3 separate regions of the Homo sapiens genome follow, and regions 2 and 3 are each linked to region 1. Evidence: promoter capture Hi-C in 16 types of primary human blood cells and fetal thymus (Javierre and others, 2016). All regions are on one chromosome and are shown on one strand. Each heading gives the region's core, a stretch centred on a gene start or on the middle of the fragment in contact. The rest is flanking DNA. Distances are from core to core; before and after follow the strand shown. Region 1 overlaps RABL6 (RAB, member RAS oncogene family like 6). Region 2 holds the start of LCN12 (lipocalin 12). Region 3 holds the start of PTGDS (prostaglandin D2 synthase).

The links. The method cuts DNA at HindIII sites, captures the fragments that hold promoters and counts their contacts. A CHiCAGO score of 5 or more calls a contact.
Region 2: a contact is called between the fragment with the promoter of LCN12 here and a fragment that was not itself captured in region 1, in 6 of 17 cell types (endothelial precursors, activated CD4 T cells, naive CD4 T cells and 3 more). The highest score is 8.3, in endothelial precursors.
Region 3: a contact is called between the fragment with the promoter of PTGDS here and a fragment that was not itself captured in region 1, in 7 of 17 cell types (activated CD4 T cells, non-activated CD4 T cells, M1 macrophages and 4 more). The highest score is 10.0, in activated CD4 T cells.

The regions. Positions count from the first base shown.
Region 1 is chr9:136,814,021-136,816,720 of GRCh38, reverse strand. The region is part of intron 1 of RABL6 (RAB, member RAS oncogene family like 6); the gene reads right to left. It also overlaps the pseudogene NCLP1. Among named protein-coding and RNA genes, the nearest start is that of CCDC183-AS1, 6.5 kb to the right of the region's middle. The HindIII fragment of the contact is 884 bases long and covers 839-1,722 here.
Region 2 is chr9:136,950,832-136,953,531 of GRCh38, reverse strand. It overlaps LCN12 (lipocalin 12), which reads right to left and starts at 1,259. Exons shown (of 6, transcript NM_178536.4): 1 at 1,091-1,259; 2 at 504-640. The coding sequence starts at 1,204. RefSeq lists a silencer at 438-619. The HindIII fragment of the contact is 24,012 bases long and covers 1-2,700 here.
Region 3 is chr9:136,976,156-136,978,975 of GRCh38, reverse strand. PTGDS (prostaglandin D2 synthase) reads right to left here and starts at 1,472. Exons shown (of 7, transcript NM_000954.6): 1 at 1,284-1,472. The coding sequence starts at 1,397. It also overlaps LOC124902312. RefSeq lists an enhancer at 1-412. The HindIII fragment of the contact is 17,671 bases long and covers 1-2,820 here.

The DNA.
Region 1 (2,700 bases), core at 31-2,530:
TTTTGAGACAGAGTCTCACTCTGTCACCCAGGCTGGAGTGCAGTGGCGCGATCTCGACCCACTGCAACCTCCACCTCCCAGGCTCAAGCAATTCTCCTGCCTCCGCCTCCTGAGTAGCTGGGATTACAGGCATGTGCCCATCACACCCAGCTAATTTTTGTTATTTTTAGTAGAGACAGGGTTTTGCCATGTTGGCCAGGCTGGTCTCAAACTCCTGACCTCAAGTGATCCACCAACCTCGGCCTCCCAAAGTGCTGGGATTACAGGAGTGAGGCACCATGCCCAACTTAACCTCTACTTTTAAGTTAAAAAGTTAGGCTGGTCGCAGTGGCTCTCTCCTGTAATGCCAGCACTTTGGGAGGCCAAGGCAGATGGATCGCTTGGGCCCAGGAGTTTGAGACCAGCCTGGGCAACATGGTGAAACACTGTCTCTACAAAAATTACAAAACTCAGCCAGGCATGGTGGCGTGCACCTGTAGTCCCAGCTACTCAGGAGGCTGAGGTGGGAAGATTGCTTGAGCCAGGGAGGTGAAGGCTGCAGTGAGTCAAGATTGCGCCACTGCACTCCAGTTCAGGCGAAAGAGCAAGACCCTAAATAAATAAAATCAATTTCAGAATCTTTTTTTTCTCCTGCTGGTCCCTTGATCTTGGGTTTTCTTTTTTTCTGCTTAACTTCAGAATCTTAAATGTTGGCTGCAATAAGCTAAGTGATTCTCCTGGAAAACCTTTAGGATTCATCCAAGAAACGCTAAGAAGCCCTGTACTTACCTGTACTTAACCTCATGGTAAACCTGCTCTTTTACTAAACGGGATGTGAACACGACCTCTGTTCTAAGCTTGTTTTAGAAGATACAATGCAGAAAACACAGAGCTCTATTTGAGGCCCTGAGCCTTTCTTACCCTGATTCAATTTAACTCCTTCACATTCCTGCAGCTTTCCTGCAAAATATGGAATAATTTTCTTACATTTTCATACCAAGAAGAGCTTATGATTTATCTCAGATGCATGAAGGTTTAACTCCTAACCAGGCCCTCTCACAGTGCCAGCAGCATCTCCTGGGCCCATTACAAGGGCCCAGCCACCTCCCCACCCTGACAGCCTGTGCTGCAGCTGGTGTCAGCCACACCTTGCTCCTCTCCCACTCTGCACCCTGCAAAGATTTCCCATCCTCAGCAGCTTCAGACTACTTGGTGTCGAGGCAGGTAAAAACCAAGGTGACCCCAAGAAAATGGCTGCTCCCCCAAAGGAGGCAGAAGGAGGAAGTGAAGATGAGGAAATGTCAGAAGATGAAGAAGATGACAGCTGTGGAGAAGAGACTGTCACACCTCAGGAGAAAGGCAAGAAGGCTGCTGCAACCCCAGCCAAGAAGGTGACAGTTTCCCGAACAAAAAAGGCTGCAGGTGCCACACCCACCAAGAAAGCAACTGTCACTCCAGGCAAAGCAGTCGCCACACCTGCCAAGAAGGGAGCCATAGCAGGCAAAGCACTGGCAGCAGCTCCTGGCAAGAAGGGACACCCCAGCCAAGGGGGCAAAGAACGGCAAGAACGCCAAGAAGGAAGACAGCGATGAGGAGGAGGATGACTCTGAACCAGCAGTGATGAAGGCAGCAGCGGGTGCCCCTGCCTCAGGGGATGAGGACGAGGACGATGAGGACGATGCTGAGGAAGATGGCTCTGAAGCAGCACCTATGGAAACAACACCAGCCAAAGGAAAGAAAGCTTCTACAAATGCTGTTCCTGGGAAAGCCAAGAGGATGGCTGGGAATGAAGATGAAGAGGATGATGAGGACAAGGACGAGGGTGACGATGATGAAGAGGATGAAGTGATGAAGACGACAAAGAGGAGGAAGGGTCTGTCAAAGAAGCACCTGGAAAATGAAGGAAATGACCAAACAGCAGCTTCTGAAGCCAAGAAACACAAAGTGGAGAGTGAGAAGCACAGAACCAACTGTGCCTTTTTTTTTTTTTTAAGACAGGGTCTCACTCTCTCGCCCAGGTTGGACTGCAGTGGCGCAATCTTGGCTCACTGCAACCTTCACCTGCCAGGCTCAAGTGATTCTCCTGCTTCAGCCTCCTGAGTAGCTGGGATTACAGGCGTGTACCACTACCACCCGGCTAATTTTTGTATTTTTAGTAGAGACGGGGTTTCACCATGTTGGCCAGGCTGGAACGTCTTTCAATCTTTGTTGGAAACCTGAACTTTAACAAGTCTGCTCCTGAGTTAAAAACTAGTATCCATGGGCCAGGCCTGGTGGCTCACGCCTGTAATCCCAGCACTTTGGGAGGCTGAGGTGGACAGATCACAAGGTCAGGAGTTTGAGACCAGCCTGGCCAACATAATGAAACCCTGTCTCTACTAAAAATACAAAAATTAGCCGGGCGTAGTGGTGCGTGCCTGTAGTCCCAGCTACTGGGGAGGCTGAGGCAGGAGAATCACTTGAACCCGGGAGGTGGAAGCTGCAGTGAGCACCATTGCACTCCAGCCTGGGTAACAGAGCAAGACCCTGTCTCGAAAAAGAAAGAAAAACAAAAACTAGTATCCATGATATTTTTGCTAAAAATGATCTTGCTGTTGTGGATGTCAGAATGGGTATGACAAGGAAATCTGACTATGTGGATTTTCAAGCTGCTGAAGACCTGGAAAGAGCCTTGGAACTCGCTGGTTTGAAAGACTTTGGCAATGAAATTAAACTAGAGAA
Region 2 (2,700 bases), core at 10-2,509, 140 kb before region 1:
ACTCCTGAGTTCAAGTGATCCTTCTGCCTCTGCCTCCTGAAGTACTGGGATTACAGGTGTGCGCCACTGCGCCCGGCCCCTAAAGTGCTGGGATTACAGGTGTGCGCCACCGCGCCCGGCCCCCAAAGTGCTAGGATTACAGGTGTGCGCGACCGCGCCCGGCCCCCAAAGTGCTAGGATTACAGGTGTGAGCCAGCGCGCCCGGCCCCTGAAGTCCTGGGATTACAGGTGTGAGCCAGCGCGCCCAGCCCCGGAAGTGCTGGGATTACAGGTGTGAGCCAGCGCACCCGGCCCCCGAAGTGCTAGGATTACAGGTGTGAGCCAGCGCGCCCAGCTGCCCACACTTTTTTGTATACTCCCCAGCTGGGTTTGGTCATTGGCAGGCAGAGTCATGAAGCTGCCTGTGCTGGGACAGGGCCCATGGCGCACCTGAGCCACTGGCGGCTGGGACCCAGGCCCGGGATCCTCCTCACCCGCTTGGAACGGCAGGGACAGCCACTCACCGAGTCATCGCATTCCACACCTCAAAGCGGCCATCATCACTTAGCTCAAAAGTTGCGGTGAAAGCGTTCAGCAGCGCCCTGTGCTCCGGCCTGAAGCTGTTGCCCGCCAGGCCCAGGACGAACCATTCCCCCTGGAACTACAGAGGCGGTGGTGGGCAGGGGCGGCGGTGGGCAGGGGTGGCAGTGGGCAGGGTCAGGAGCCCCCTCCCGCCCTCCCTGGCAGCTTCTGGACCCCTCACAGAGCAGTGCTCCTGGCTGGGCCGGCGCCAGGGACACTGGCAAGAACCAGAGCCTACTCTGGGTCTGGCAGGGACATGGTGACCCTGGCCAGTGGCTGTGCGGCCTTCCCGAGCCTGTTTCCCCTCACGCACAGAGGGAGCGATGGGCTGGGCTGACGGCAGGGAATGGGTGCCAGGAAGGTCTGCGCTGGGCCCTCCTCTGCTGGAGGTCAGGGGCCCGCCTGGGGGCTCCTGGAAGCACGGCTGGTCCTGGCTCTCTGGGCAGCATCCCCAGGCCTGCTCAGCCACCAGCCTCTCCCTGCACTCAGACCCAGCCGGCTGCTTCTCCTTCCGTCAAAACCCCTGTACCTGGTTTCCTTGGAAGCTCTGCATCGGGGGCGGGAGTGGCAGGGGGGTTGGGGTCTGGGCCTGCAGGACTTTCAGCAAGGAGAGCCACAGCCACAGGCCACACAGCAGCCTCATCCTGGCAGCTGCTGGGCCCACAGGGACAGAGAGAAGGAAGTGGCCATGGGCAGGTGACCCAGAGACCCACCTCTTCATGCACATACCCAGCAGGTGCCCCTCCCAAGGGGGTGTGCCCCTCTGCCTCCCTCCTCAGGACTGGCAGGAGAGGTGGTGCCCAGGGCAGGCTTGGTGTGGGCTCTCCTCAGGTCCCACCCACCCACCTGCGGTCTCTTGGGTTCCAGCCAGGTGGGGTAGGAGGGGCCCCCAGGTCCACCTTCCACCTCTTCTTCTCATTTCTGAGGCCCTGCCCCCTTCAGCCCCCTTCCAAGTGCCCCATGCTGGGGGTTCAGAGGCCCCACGCAGCCTGCCCCAGCCTTCCTCCCTGTCACAGAATGTTGCGTCCCAGGCAGACAGCGTGACCTGCCGCAGCCATAAGGGACAGGGCCCAGCTGTGGCCAAACCCGGGCATTCCCCCTGCAGGGCCTGGGCCTGCCAGCCGCCCCCCTACCCCCACCCTGCCTGGCTCCACACATGCCTGAACCGCAGCGTGGGCCGTGGCCCTGGAGCAAGAACAGGACCAGGGAGGGGCCCTGTGGCCATGAGGCCGGGGTGGAGGTGGCCCGAGCAGGCGAGGAGGGAGGCTGGGGCCTGCAGAGCACCCAGGCAACCTGGTGAGGACAGCTGGGGCATTTTAAACGCAGTCTCTGCCCAGAGGGAGGGGCAGGGCTGGGAAGCCCCACTAATGGGAGTGGGCACCCCATGCTGGTCCTGCCTAAAAGAAAGGATTAGTAGGCCAGGCACAGAGGCTCATGCCTATAATCCCAGCACTTTGGGGGGCCAAGGTGGGAGGATCTCTCAAGCCCAGGAGTTTGACATCACCCTGGACAACATAGCGAGACTCCATCTCTACAAAAAAATTTAAAAGTTAGCTGGGGGTGGTGGTGCACACCTGTGGTCCCAGCTACTTGAGAGGCTGAGGTGGGAGGATTGCTTTAGCCCAGGAGTTTGAGCCTGCAGTAAGCTATGATTGTGCCACTGGACTCCAGCCTGGGCAAGACTGAGATCTCATCTCTAAAAATATAAAAATAAAATGTAAACAGAGGGCTGGCAGGGAGGGCAATGGCAGGCTTGGGGCTTCTAGCTGCCCTGGCACCCCTTGGACGATGGGGCTAGGGAGTGGAGTCCCCTTCCTGACCTCTCCTCCCATCCTCACAGGTAGCTGAAGCCTCTGGGTGCTGGACTCCATGTTAGGGGTCACCAAGGGTGAGCCAGGTGCCTCCCACTCACCGTGTGCCTGGCCTGTGAGCCTCTGTCCAGGCCCCCCAGGTCCCTGTCCTGGCTGCCCCCTCCCACCCCAGATTCCCTGTCCTGGCCACCTCCTCCCCTCATCCAGCCCTGCTTACAAGGGACTTAGGCTCATCCCAGGAGGTGCCCTGGGCCTCGGCAGCCTGCCCTGGGTGGCAGCCCCAGCCTGGCCACTCGAAGAGCCCAGCCCCCAGGACTTCAGGGCTCCA
Region 3 (2,820 bases), core at 223-2,722, 160 kb before region 1:
CACCCGCGTCGGCCAGGACCCTCCGGACCCACCTGCGCCTACCTGCGGGGGCGCCTCTGCCGTCTACTCCTCCGGTCTCCAACCCGGCCCCGCCCCCACGCCCAATCCCCCGAGCAGCCACGCCCCTCACGCCCCGCCCCAGGAACTGACCCCCGCCCCTCAATCCCCGCCCCAGGAGATGACCCCGCCCCTCACATCTCCGCCCCAGGAGCTGACCACGCCCCTCACATCCCCGCCCCAGGAGATGACCCCGCCCCTCACATCCCCGCCCCAGGAGCTGACCACGCCCCTCACGACCCCGCCCCAAGAGCTGGCCCCGCCCTTCATGTCCACAACCAGGGAACTGACCGCGCCCCTCACGCCCCATGCCCCCCTAGGAGCTGACCCCGCCCCTCACGTCCCCGCCCCAGGAGCTGACCACGCCCATCAGGCCCCCGCCCCGCCCCGGGAGGTGGCCCCGCCCCTCACGCCCCGCCCCAGGAGATGACCACGCCCCACTTCCCCCTCCCCCGGAGATGGCCCCGCCCCTCACGCCTCAGCCCCAGAAGCTGGCCACGCCCCTGACACCCAGCACCCCCGTCTGGCCACGCCCCTCCCGAGGACAGTCCCTCACCCTCGCACGCCGCCCACCAGCCAGCTTCGGCCCCTCCGCCCCCGGTCCCGATTCTGTGCCCTGGCTGAGCGCCTGGCCCATACAGCGGGCGGCAGAGGACGTCGCATTCCTGGCGGGGATCGGGGCGGGTCTTCGGCTCAGCTCTGCGGACCGCTGGGGTTCTCCTCGACGCCAGGGAGGGGCGCGCGGCGCGGGGACCCGCGCTCCGGCGCTTCCCCGAGCAGCTCCCGGGCGAGAGCGCGCGTCGCCGGCTGTCTGTGCGGTGCGCGTCCCTCCCAACCCCCACCGCGCACGGAGTGTTTGTCGCCATCCCTGTGCCCCACCCGCCCGTGTCCTGGCACCCAGGTGTGGAACGTGCGCTCGTGTGTCCTCTGGGGGTCGCGTGCCCACAGGGGTGGACGTGTCTGGCTGGCGTGGGCGCGTGTGTGGCCCGGTGTCTGCGTGGCCCATCAGGGGAGACGGGACGCGGTGCCCAGGGAGGGCTTCTCGCGGGCAGCCTCCTCGGGCGGCTACCCAGCCTCCTTCCTGCGCGCCCGCTCAGTCCCTGGCCGGCACTGCCCGGCACTGCGGGACTTCGCTCACTCCTCCCAGGGGGAAGACCCAGCCGGAAAGTGCCCTTCCCCTGACAGGGTCCTGTAGCCCTTGGGGATGACGCAGGAAAGCCCCTCACCTTGTCCTGCTGGAAGTTGGGCTGCACGGAGACCTGGGCCTCCGGTGCTGCCTGCAGGTCGCCCAGCACCCCCAGCAGGGCCAGTCCCATCCACAGTGTGTGATGAGTAGCCATTCTCCTGCAGCAGAGCGGGTGTCCGGGGCCTGGTGCCAGTGGTGTGGGAGAGCGAGGGAGGTGTGCAGGAGGAGCGGAGGGCACTGAGGAGACCCCTATTTATGGGCCAGGCTTGGCCTCCACCCAGGGCCCGGGGACAGCCCACTGAACACTCGTGATGCTGGGGGATGGGGTGGCCAGGCACAGCTGCAGCCTCGTCCCCCACAGGGCGCTTATGCAAGAGGCCTGGGCCTGCTGCCCCAGCTGAGGCAGCGTGGGGGTGAGGCAGAGGCCCCTGCCCACTGGTCCCAGAGACAGAGCTGGCAGGGACCTTGCCCACCCTCCTCCTGCTGGCAGGGCCCACCAACCCAGCGGCCCTGATAGGGCAGGGGCTGTGTTCCTCAGCCATGCCCGCCTCCGAGGCCTCTGGTGACTTCCCACTGGGGGCCAGGACCCACATCTCACAGCCCCTACCATCATTCCCTTTCCGAGCCCTGCCACCCCAGAAGGGGACACAAGCCCCACTTCCACCCTGAGAGTTTGGTCCTGAAACGCCCAGCAAGTGAAGTGTTGATGAGAAGCTCAGGCCAAGGTAGAGAAACTTGATCTGGCCCGCAGGGTCCCGAGGGCCAGGTTTGCTGGGCATGGCTTCCCCCATGGCCAGCTGTTGGGGCTCTGATAGTGACCCCTGGGTGCCCATTTCAGCCTGGGGCACCTTTGGGCTTGAGCACAGGCCCTATCCCTTGCCAGAGGCCCCAACTTCCCCCAGCAATCCCCCCACCCCAAGTCTGCCCCCCGCCGAGTCTGGGCCTCCCCACCCCGAGTCTGGTCCAGACTCGGGAGCACCCCGTGGGGCTGTCCTGTTACCCCAGCGCTGCACCCAGCTCCTTGGGCCCCTCCAGCTCGTTGGCCCTGGCTGGGGCCCTGTCACAGGCCGTCACAGGCAGGCACATGTGGTGGGCCCTCTCTGGATTCTGTTGGGACTGAGCTTCCCTGGCAGGCGTGGTGGGTGAGCGCTGCCGCTGGTCTGAAGGTGAGCCCGGGTGGGGAGCTGGGAAATGTACATGAGAGCAGGAGTGAGTCGGATGGGGTGGGGTGGTGAGCTTCTACGGGGCTGCTGGCGACCACTGGGGGCCGGAGCCCGTCTTCTTCCTGGATTCTGTGGCCCATCCCTTGCTGGGGGCGCACGAGCCCTGGGAGTGGGCTGGTGTGGACTGCTTCCTTGTTCCCCTTCCCCAGTGCCCGGGGGTCAAGGAGCCCAGACTGGGGGAGGCGCATGCCTATGTAGCAGCAGGGGCTAGTGGGCAGCACTGGTGTCAGGGCTGGTGGGGGTGGCCGGGTAGCATCCCAGGCAGAGGCCAAGGTGAGGGAGTGAGTCCCAGGGAGCCGGGAGGCACCTGAGAGGCAGGGAGAAGGAGGGCAGCGGTGCAGGGGGGCCAAGGCA